3 separate regions of the Homo sapiens genome follow, and all the other regions are linked to region 1. The links are contacts of gene promoters, found by promoter capture Hi-C in human tissues and cell types (Jung and others, 2019). All regions are on one chromosome and are shown on one strand. Each heading gives the region's core, a stretch centred on a gene start or on the middle of the fragment in contact. The rest is flanking DNA. Distances are from core to core; before and after follow the strand shown.

Region 1 (3,069 bases), core at 106-2,605:
GAATCTTACAGGACTATTACTCTATAGAATGCTCTTAGGGAAGAGGTAGCATAAAGGGGAAAATATGGGTTTTAGATTAAGCATAAAGTCCTGGTTCTATATAAGTAAAGCCAGAGTAGGCTCATTTCCCCCTAGACTAGTGGTTCTCAACTGGGAATGATTTTGCTCCCAGGGAGACACTTGGCAATGTCTGGAGATATTTTTGGTAGTCACAACTGGGCTTGGGGTGCTACTGGCATCTACTGGGTAGAGCCAGGGATGCTGCCAAACATCCTACAATGCAGACAGCTCCCCCCACCCCTGCCCAACAAAGAATTATCAGGTCCAAAATGTCAATAGTGCCACTGTTGAGAAATCCTACTCAAGAAGAGTGGAACTCCGAACAATGACTAAGAAACAGATCAAACAGGCACATTTTGACTCTGCCTTCCTTCTGCCTGGCTCTAGAGGATCCAGGAGAGAAAGGATAAAATCCCATCAGAAGAGGGGGGGTTTAGGGGTTACAACTTCTCATCACTTTGGAAGCCTTCCATGCTCCTCACAGAGGTGGTAGGAGTCCTGTCTCCGCTCAAAGCAGGGATAGCTCTGCTGCTAGTTAGCATATCTCAGTAGGAACTGCCTCACGCTTAGGTCAGCTGACATATTCTGTCACCACAGGCTGCTCTGGAATGATGGCTGGGAGATCATCCTAATGCCAGCTGAGTGGGGATCTTGATACTCAGCAGGAGGGTCAGACAAGCAGGGACGGGGGCTCCCCATGCAGATACAAACCCCAATCACATTTCCTACACAGGCAGTTTTATTCTAAGGTCTAACGGCTTCCTTACTCTAGCGGATAGTTTGCTATTTGGTGGGGCATAGGCTTCAGTAAAGAGGCCAAGGGGACTGAGGTTACAGTCTTGAAGAGCACTGATATTTAAGGAACAATCAAAAAACATCCAGAGGAAGAGGAGCCCAGACAGGCACCTGAGAAAACGGAAAAACGAGTCACTGGGGGTCAGGGAGCCAGGAAGTCCGACGAGTTCGAGAGAACTGGCCTTCTGCAGATATGTCCTTGTCCAACACGAAACCGTCTTTCATTCCAGGACAACTGAGGCTACCCACAGCTACCAAAACCTGGTCCCTGACGCCGGTCAGCGGACCGGAGAGAAGCCAAGCTTAGGAAACTGCCGCCTCCGCCGCCGGAAATGAATAACCTGAGCCTCCTAGCCAGGCTGCTTAAGCTCCGCCCCCAAAAAGCGAGCATGCGCAGCTCCCGGCTACGGCCCCTCCCAGCGCAGGCCCATCCCCGTTATGGAGCATGCGCAGTCCTCCTGCCGTCCCGCCCCTCCCTTTCCAGAGCCCCCAGTTCCTTAGAAACCAGGCGGCGCGTTCCCGGTGGCGGCGCCCTGGACTCCCGGGCCCGCGCATCCCCGCCAGCCTTCCTTAAGGCGGATGGGTGGCCCCCGAGACCCCGTCGGACCCATGGTTTCCAGTGCAGCGCGGAGTGGGCGATGCCAGCGTGCCAGGTGAGAGGCGGCCACCGGTGGCGGGTGAGGGCGAAAGAGGGCATGGCGCGGCCGGGAGCGGGCGCCGACAGGGCCTTCTCCGCGGCCCGGCGCCGGAGGTTGGAGGCGTGGACCCGCAGAGCCGGGGTTGGAGGGGGCTTGTTCCAACTGCCTGCAGGCGCGTGGAGTGGAGGGTCGCCTTGGGATTCGCCCTTTCCACCGCAGAAATAGGACCCGCAGGCTTGGTGGTAGAATTATAGGATTTGGGATCCTGGAAGAACCTGAGACATAACCCATCCTTTTACCAGATGCAAAAACCTAGTCTCCCCCGCCCTGTGCCGAGCGGACCACCTGACTGTGTGAGGATGGACGCTTTGTGGATGAGGATGTGTGAGGTGTAGAAGCTCAGACAAAGGGCTCGTGGGGTAGCTGGTTCGTCCCCTTTCAGAATGAGATGGGACTTTTGGGGATAAATCTTTAAGAAACGGGTGTTCAGTTGACAGGTGGAAGAAGGGACACCCCAGAAGGTGCGAGTGGCTCTGCCAGCTCCCATGTGCCCTATGGCCACGTCTCAATGGCCCTGGCCTACCTTTGTATTTGTAGCTCTGGAAGGAAGCAGATGGACTTGAGACAAAAGGTGAAGTGAGGTCTTCCCATCAAGGCCCTATCACACTTAAAAGGTGAGGGAGGAAGAGTGGACAGGGACATGAGGGCTTGGGAATGGTTGTGTGAAGAGTTTACCCTCCAGACTACAGCACGATCTAAAGAACAAGGCAGGATAGAAGAGTTGAAAGCTGTATTGGATAGGCATCAGGGAAGCTTATTTAACTGTCTTATTTATGTTCATTGTTCCCATAATGTTATCCTGAGGGCAAGAAAGTGGATGTCCTTTTAAATGTCCAGAAAGAACTAGGGCAGGGCACCACCTTTGTGATCTGTGGGGCCCAAAAGCCTCTAAAGGAATAGCCCTTAGTGTGTGGCCCTTAAGTTGAAGGGAACAGCATTTAATTTAGAAAAGGAAGGCACTTAAATTTATTGTGATATGGAGCAATATAGAGAAGATGGTTGTTTTTGAGTCGGGGAAGCTAGATTCATTCTTGATAAGGAAACTTATTTCCTTCTGGAAAGCTACACTAGAGAACAAAAGAGTTTTAAGGCCATCCATTTTACAGGAAACGTGAAAAAATTAACTGCTTTGGGATTGGGAGTTTAGAGAACCTGCCTGGACCAAGAGAGGAAATTTTCAACAGACGGTTCTGTTGGTCGAATCCTTATTTCACAGATAAAGATTCTGTTGTGAGAGGTTATCTCTTACCACCTGGTTTTCCCACTTTGCCATGGAATAATCATTGGTCTGGGTCTAATTCTCTATCTATCTATCTATCTATCTATCGAGACGGAGTCTCACTCTGTCACCCAGACTGGAGTGCAGTGGTGCGATCTCGGCTCACTGCAATCTCCGCCTCCCAGGTTCAAGCGATTCTCTGGCCTCAACCTCCTGAGTAGCTGGGACTACAGGCATGTACCACCACGCCCAGCTAATTTTTGTATGTTTAGTAGAGAAGGGGTTTCACCATGTTGG
Region 2 (2,903 bases), core at 254-2,753, 590 kb before region 1:
CTGCGCAACATAGTGAGACCCCGTTCTCTACAAAAAATTTTTAAAAAAATTAGCCGGGCGCGGTGGCCTGTGCCTGTAGTCCCAGTTACTCCCAGCTACTCGGGAGGCTGAGGTAGGGGAATCACTTGAGCCCGGGAGGCAGAGGTTGCAGTGAGCAGAGATGGCGCCACTGAACTCCAGCCTGGGTGACAGAGTGAGACCCTGTCTTAAAAAAAAAAATATATATATATATATATATATATAAATATACATATATTAAAATTAAAAATTACCCGAGTGTAGTGGCGCGTGCCTGTAGTCCCAGCTACTCGGTAGGCCGAGGTGAGGATCGCTTGAGCCCAGGAGGTCAAGGCTGCAGTGCGCCTCGATCACACCACTGCACTCAGCCTAGGCAGCAGAGTGAGACTCTGTCTCGAAAAAATAAAATAACAAAATTTATTAAATACCTTCTATGTGCCAGGCACTATATTAGGGACTGGAGCCACCACCACAAGCTAGAGAAGACCCTTGCCCTCCAAGAGCTTAGACTCTAATGAGAGAGTAATACAAATTACAGACTACATGAATGCAAGAAATACACAGAGCGTTGTAGAAAGAGAAAACCAAGGTTACAGAAGGACTCTGAGGAAACTAGCATTTGAGATCTACAAGACAGACCGGGATAAAAGTTGGGGAAGAGTTTTTACAGGTCAGGAATCCTTACCCCAACTTTCCCAAGAAAAGGCCCTAAGGTAGAAAGAACTAGGTTGCATAAGCAAAATGTGCCAAAAGCCTGAGCGACCGAAGCACTTTTGCAGAAGCCCCCCGCTCCTCATCTCCTATCACATCTTCTGCTCAATCAAGCTGGGCCTTGTCGACTTCGGAAAGGCGTTTGGATTTTGTTCTAAAAGCACTGGGAGCCACTCAAGAGTTTTAAGCAGAAGCGTATCTACACTAGGCTTACGCTTTTACAGGACCACTCTGGTTGGCGTGTAGTGAATACACGACTCTCCAATTACTCAGAACAGTGAGTGGCAAAGACAACAGGTCTGGCAATCAGAGAACTCGTGGCCCAGTTAGGGGTGCGATGGTTGGAGCTACTGCGGTCTCTGTGGCTGAGGGGAGGCGCCAGGCACGAGTACTGCGACAGAGCCCCGCGAGTGGCAGGCACCCGGCTGCACTGCAGAGCCGGGGCCAGCCTAGAACCCCGCTCTCCTGCAGGCCCGGGTGTCCCGAGCTGCCCCACGCGGAGGAGTCCAAGTAGGCCCACGCTAGGCTCCTCTGCCGAAACCCTGGTGCCAAGGACACCATGCTCGCTGCACACAGAACCCCAAAGCGACCCCACCTTCCCAGCATACCCAGCGCCTCACCCGCCGCGGGAAACCCTCCGCTCGCCTCCGCTGCTACCACTTTTACCGCGGCCAGCACGCGGGGCGGGACCTCGCAGCGTCGAGGAGCGTGCTGGGGGGCGGGTCCTAAAGCAGAACTGGAAAGCTATCCCATCACACCCCGCGAGCTCCCACAGTGCTCAGCGGCAGCCACTATGGAGGCCGCCAGGACCGCTGTACTCCGGGTGAAGCGGAAGCGCAGTGCGGAGCCGGCGGAGGCTCTTGTGCTCGCTTGTAAACGCCTCCGGAGCGACGCGGTCGAGTCAGCGGCACAGAAGACGTCGGAGGGTTTGGAGAGAGCGGCGGAGAATAATGTCTTCCACTTGGTGGCCACTGTGTGCTCCCAGGTATTGGGCGTGGTGCAGCTGGTGTGGAGGGCATCTTCGGGTGCAGCCGGTACGAAACCCGATCCCTGACCCGCTCGCGAACTCCTGCTTACGCTGGCCTCCGTCCCCTGTTGCCCCCTAGGAGGAACCAGTCCAGCCTCTCCTGCGGGAAGTTCTGCGCCCGTCACGGGACAGCCAGCAGCGTGTCCGCCGTAATCTCCGCGCCTCGGCTCGGGAGGTCCGGCAGGAGGGCCGCTACCGGGTGCTTTCCAGCCGCCGATCCTTGGGGACCACCTCGAGCGGCCAGGAGTCCGAGTACACGCCGGGGAACCCAGAAGCCGCCGGGAACTCGGGCTTTCAGTTGTTAGACCTTGTCCACGAGGAGGGAGAACCTGAAGCCGCCTCTGCAGGCTCCTGCAAAGTGAGTATGCCCCTGAAGGTGGTCGCTGGGCTTCTCAGGATGGTAATGCAAGAAGACTGGGCCCAGTCGCAGCACAGTTTCATCTTAAGGGGATGGATGATCCATCCGGCGTGACGGCCTCATTTTACAGATTTGGTTGTTCATCCAACATGTGTTTACTACGTGCCTACGATATGCCAGGTATTTTTTTAGATTCTGTGGATACAGCAGTGAGGACCTAACATGCAGGTAGACAGAAACAGTAAACAAGTCTATTCAGTGTCAGATGATGATAAGGGATGTAAGGAGGCGGGGAGACAAAGCAGGAAGAGTGGTGCCACTTCAGTGAGAGTGTCACTGAGGAAATGACATTTGAGTGAAGACTTGCAGAAGGTGAATGGCAGGGTATTCCACATATCGAGAGGACTTCTAGGCAGAGAACCTGAAAGTAAAGAGGCCCTTAAGCCGTTTCTTTGCTCCTTGCAAGGTGCCTGGAGCCCGGTGAGCTAGAGGAGAGCAGTAAGGAATTTGAGGGGAGGATGCCTGCTAGGTACTTGCAAGGACATTGCCTTTCACCCTGACTGAGATGGGGATCACTGGAGCAAAATAGAGATAGAGCAGGTAGGAAAATTGATCAAAGAGAGGTTAAAGGAATAGTCCTGGATAGCATATCAAGTTTGAGGTAGATTTAGGTCTAGAATGCAAGTTTTCTCACATTTAATCCAGTGCTTTTCTTTATATTACATTTGCTAACTTCATTTGCAATCACTTCCAAAAAAAGTCTACTACATGCAGCAAAACTACAGAAAT
Region 3 (2,700 bases), core at 109-2,608, 620 kb after region 1:
CACCATGTTAGCCAGGATGGTCTTGATCTCCTGACCTTGTGATCCACCCGCCTCGGCCTCCCAAAGTGCTGGGATTACAGGCGTGAGCCACCGCACCCACCCTCAAAACATCTCTTTAGGGAAGCTTTTATTCACCACCCAGACTAGAATAGATGTACTATAAGAGCCAGTACTTCTAATGTAACTTAAACAGTGTTACTGCCTTTGGTCAGCTTTTTAGCTAGACTGTAGATTCCTTGTGAGCAGGGAACATGTTTATTTTGGACACTGGATATTTCCCCCCCTAAATGATAACCATACTTTTAGTCTCCAAAAAAAAAATAGAACTTCAACATTTTCCATTTTTATTTTTATAGGTAATATCTTGCTCTGGTGGCCCAGGATGGAGTGCGGTGGCAAGATCATAGCTCACTGCAACCTCAAAATCCTCGGCTCATGCGATCTTCCCACTCCAGCCTCCCAAGTAGCTGGGACTTAGAGGTGTGCACCACCATGCCTGGCTAATTAAGAAAAATATTTTTGTGCAGATGAAGGTCTTGCTATCTTGCCCAGGCTGGTCTTGAGCTCCTGGCCTCAAGCAATCCTCCTGCCTCAGCCCCCCAAAGTGCTGGGATTACAGATATGAGCTACTGTGCCTGGCCTTTTATTTTTATCTACAACATCTCCTCAACATTTCTGAAATCTGAATGAGGCCAATAACGACCTTAATTCTAAGTTGCTTAAATTTTCTAACCAAAAGCTGGGAGTTGACTAAAACAGTGACTTATCTGTTTCAGAATATTCCATATTTAAACAAACTAAACTGCCATTTCCATCCATGATTTCACCCTGTGACTGTCATTTTTTAGCTTTGGAACATTTCTGAAATGCCATATATGAATATATGATGGTGATGCAAGAAAAGGGGTTGATGCTATCTAGGGGGAATCATGTATTCAAATCTGCAAGACTGAAATCTTACCTTTAAAGAATGTTTAGATTAAAACACCAAAGGTATCTTTTTTTTTTGAGATGGAGTCTCGCCCTGTTGCCCAGGCTGGAGTGCAGTGGTGCGATCTTGGCTCACTGCAAGCTCCACCTCCTGGGTTCGCACCATTCTCCTGCCTCAGCCTCCCGAGTAGCTGGGACTACAGGCGCCCGCCACCACACCCGTCTAATTTTTTGTATTTTTAGTAGAGACGGGGTTTCACCGTTAACCAGGATGGTCTCGATCTCCTGACCTCATGATCTGCCTGCCTCGGCCTCCCAAAGTGCTGGGATTACAGGTGTGAGCCACCGCGCCCGGCAAAACACCAAAGGTATCTTATACTCAGTTACGTATATTTGGTAATATCACCATGGTGGTTTAGAAAGATGTCCACAAATGCTTTGACATCCCCGCCTTCAACAGATGAAGCTTAATATTCCTCCCCCTTTGAGTGTGGACCAGACCCAGTGACTTGATTCTAACATACAATATGGCAGCCCAAGATTCAGTTCTAAGACTGTGCTTTTGGCTGGGCATGGTGGCTCACACCTGTAATCTCAGCACTTTGGGATGCCGAGGCGGACGAATCACTTGAGGTCAGGAATTTGAGACCAGCCTGGCCAACATGGTGAAACCCCGTCTCTATGAAAAATACAAAAATTAGCCGGGCATGTTGATGGGCACCTGTAATCCCAGCTACGTGGGAGGCTGAGGCAGGAGAATCGCTTGAACCCGGGAGGGGGAGGTTGCAGTGAGCTGAGATTGCAGCACTGCAGTCCAGTCAGTCTAGGCAACAGAGCGAGACTCCATCTCAAAAAAAAAAAAAAAAAAAAAAAAAAAAAGACTGTGCTTTCAACTTGGGTGTGCGCTCTCTTGGATCACTTGCCTTGGGGGAAGCCAGCTACCCTGCTGTGCACTGTCCTATGGAAAGACCCAGCTGGGCATGAAATGGAAGCAGGTCTCTGTCCAACATCTAGCAAGGAACATCTGCCTTTCATCTAGCAAGCTGCAAAGAACCGAGGCCAGTCAGTGACCACATTAGTGGGTTTGAAAGGGGATCTTTCATCCAGTCAATCCTTGAGATGACTGTAGCCCAGGATGACTCTAACCTTATGAGGAACTCTGAACCAGAACCATTGATCTTAGCTACTTCCAGATTTGTGACTCACCTGTGGGATAATACGTATTTATTGTTTTAAGCTGCTAAGTTTTGGGGTAATGTGTTATGGATAATACAATGGTTTATAGATTGAAAAGCTCCTCATTGCCAAATGAGGCATAAATCAAGTAAGATATTTTTCACCAAGCAGCCCCGAGCTAGCATATCCAATTATGTTTCTAGAAGTGATATACTTACTAAAACCATGCTGTTACTGCTCAATTTTTTGAAATTAACTCTCAGAGCATGAATCCTACTCTTTGGAATTTCCCTTAATGGTGTCAATTCAGAATTTAAAGGCATTTTTGTCATTTGCAGTAAGTCTTGTGGTTAATGAGTGAATCTGTTTATCATGTGTCAAGCTTAAGGCATACTTTCAAGGAAAAGGGCTTACTTTTCTGTTGTAGGAAAATGCCAGGAGTCTTAAGAATGTTTGATATAACACCAGCACAATCAAAACGGCTGTATATTTCCAAAACAACTAGCTTGAAAGATGGAACTAATTTGGATGTGTAATTTAAAATTCTTTCTCCCAACATCACTACTTTATGGTCATATCTCACAGGATGGGTAA

What was found. The method cuts DNA at HindIII sites, captures the fragments that hold promoters and counts their contacts. A contact is called where the count stands out against the background at its distance.
Region 2: a contact is called between the fragment with the promoter of SLC7A6OS here and the fragment with the promoter of GFOD2 in region 1, in 2 of the 25 tissues and cell types used here (heart right ventricle and spleen).
Region 3: a fragment that was not itself captured here is called in contact with the fragment with the promoter of GFOD2 in region 1 in 1 of the 25 tissues and cell types used here (bladder).

Annotation. Positions count from the first base shown.
Region 1 is chr16:67,717,602-67,720,670 of GRCh38, reverse strand. GFOD2 (Gfo/Idh/MocA-like oxidoreductase domain containing 2) reads left to right here and starts at 1,355. Exons shown (of 3, transcript NM_030819.4): 1 at 1,355-1,508. RefSeq lists silencers at 1,438-1,487, 1,548-1,597 and an enhancer at 1,958-2,037. The HindIII fragment of the contact is 6,116 bases long and covers 1-2,888 here.
Region 2 is chr16:68,309,546-68,312,448 of GRCh38, reverse strand. It overlaps SLC7A6OS (solute carrier family 7 member 6 opposite strand), which reads left to right and starts at 1,503. Exons shown (of 5, transcript NM_032178.3): 1 at 1,503-1,714; 2 at 1,836-2,114. The coding sequence starts at 1,523. It overlaps PRMT7 (protein arginine methyltransferase 7), which reads right to left and starts at 1,430. Exons shown (of 19, transcript NM_019023.5): 1 at 1,350-1,430; 2 at 273-407. RefSeq lists an enhancer at 1,534-2,498. The HindIII fragment of the contact is 13,375 bases long and covers 1-2,903 here.
Region 3 is chr16:67,101,229-67,103,928 of GRCh38, reverse strand. No RefSeq gene overlaps it. Among named protein-coding and RNA genes, the nearest start is that of PHAF1, 7.4 kb to the left of the region's middle. The HindIII fragment of the contact is 4,683 bases long and covers 1-2,700 here.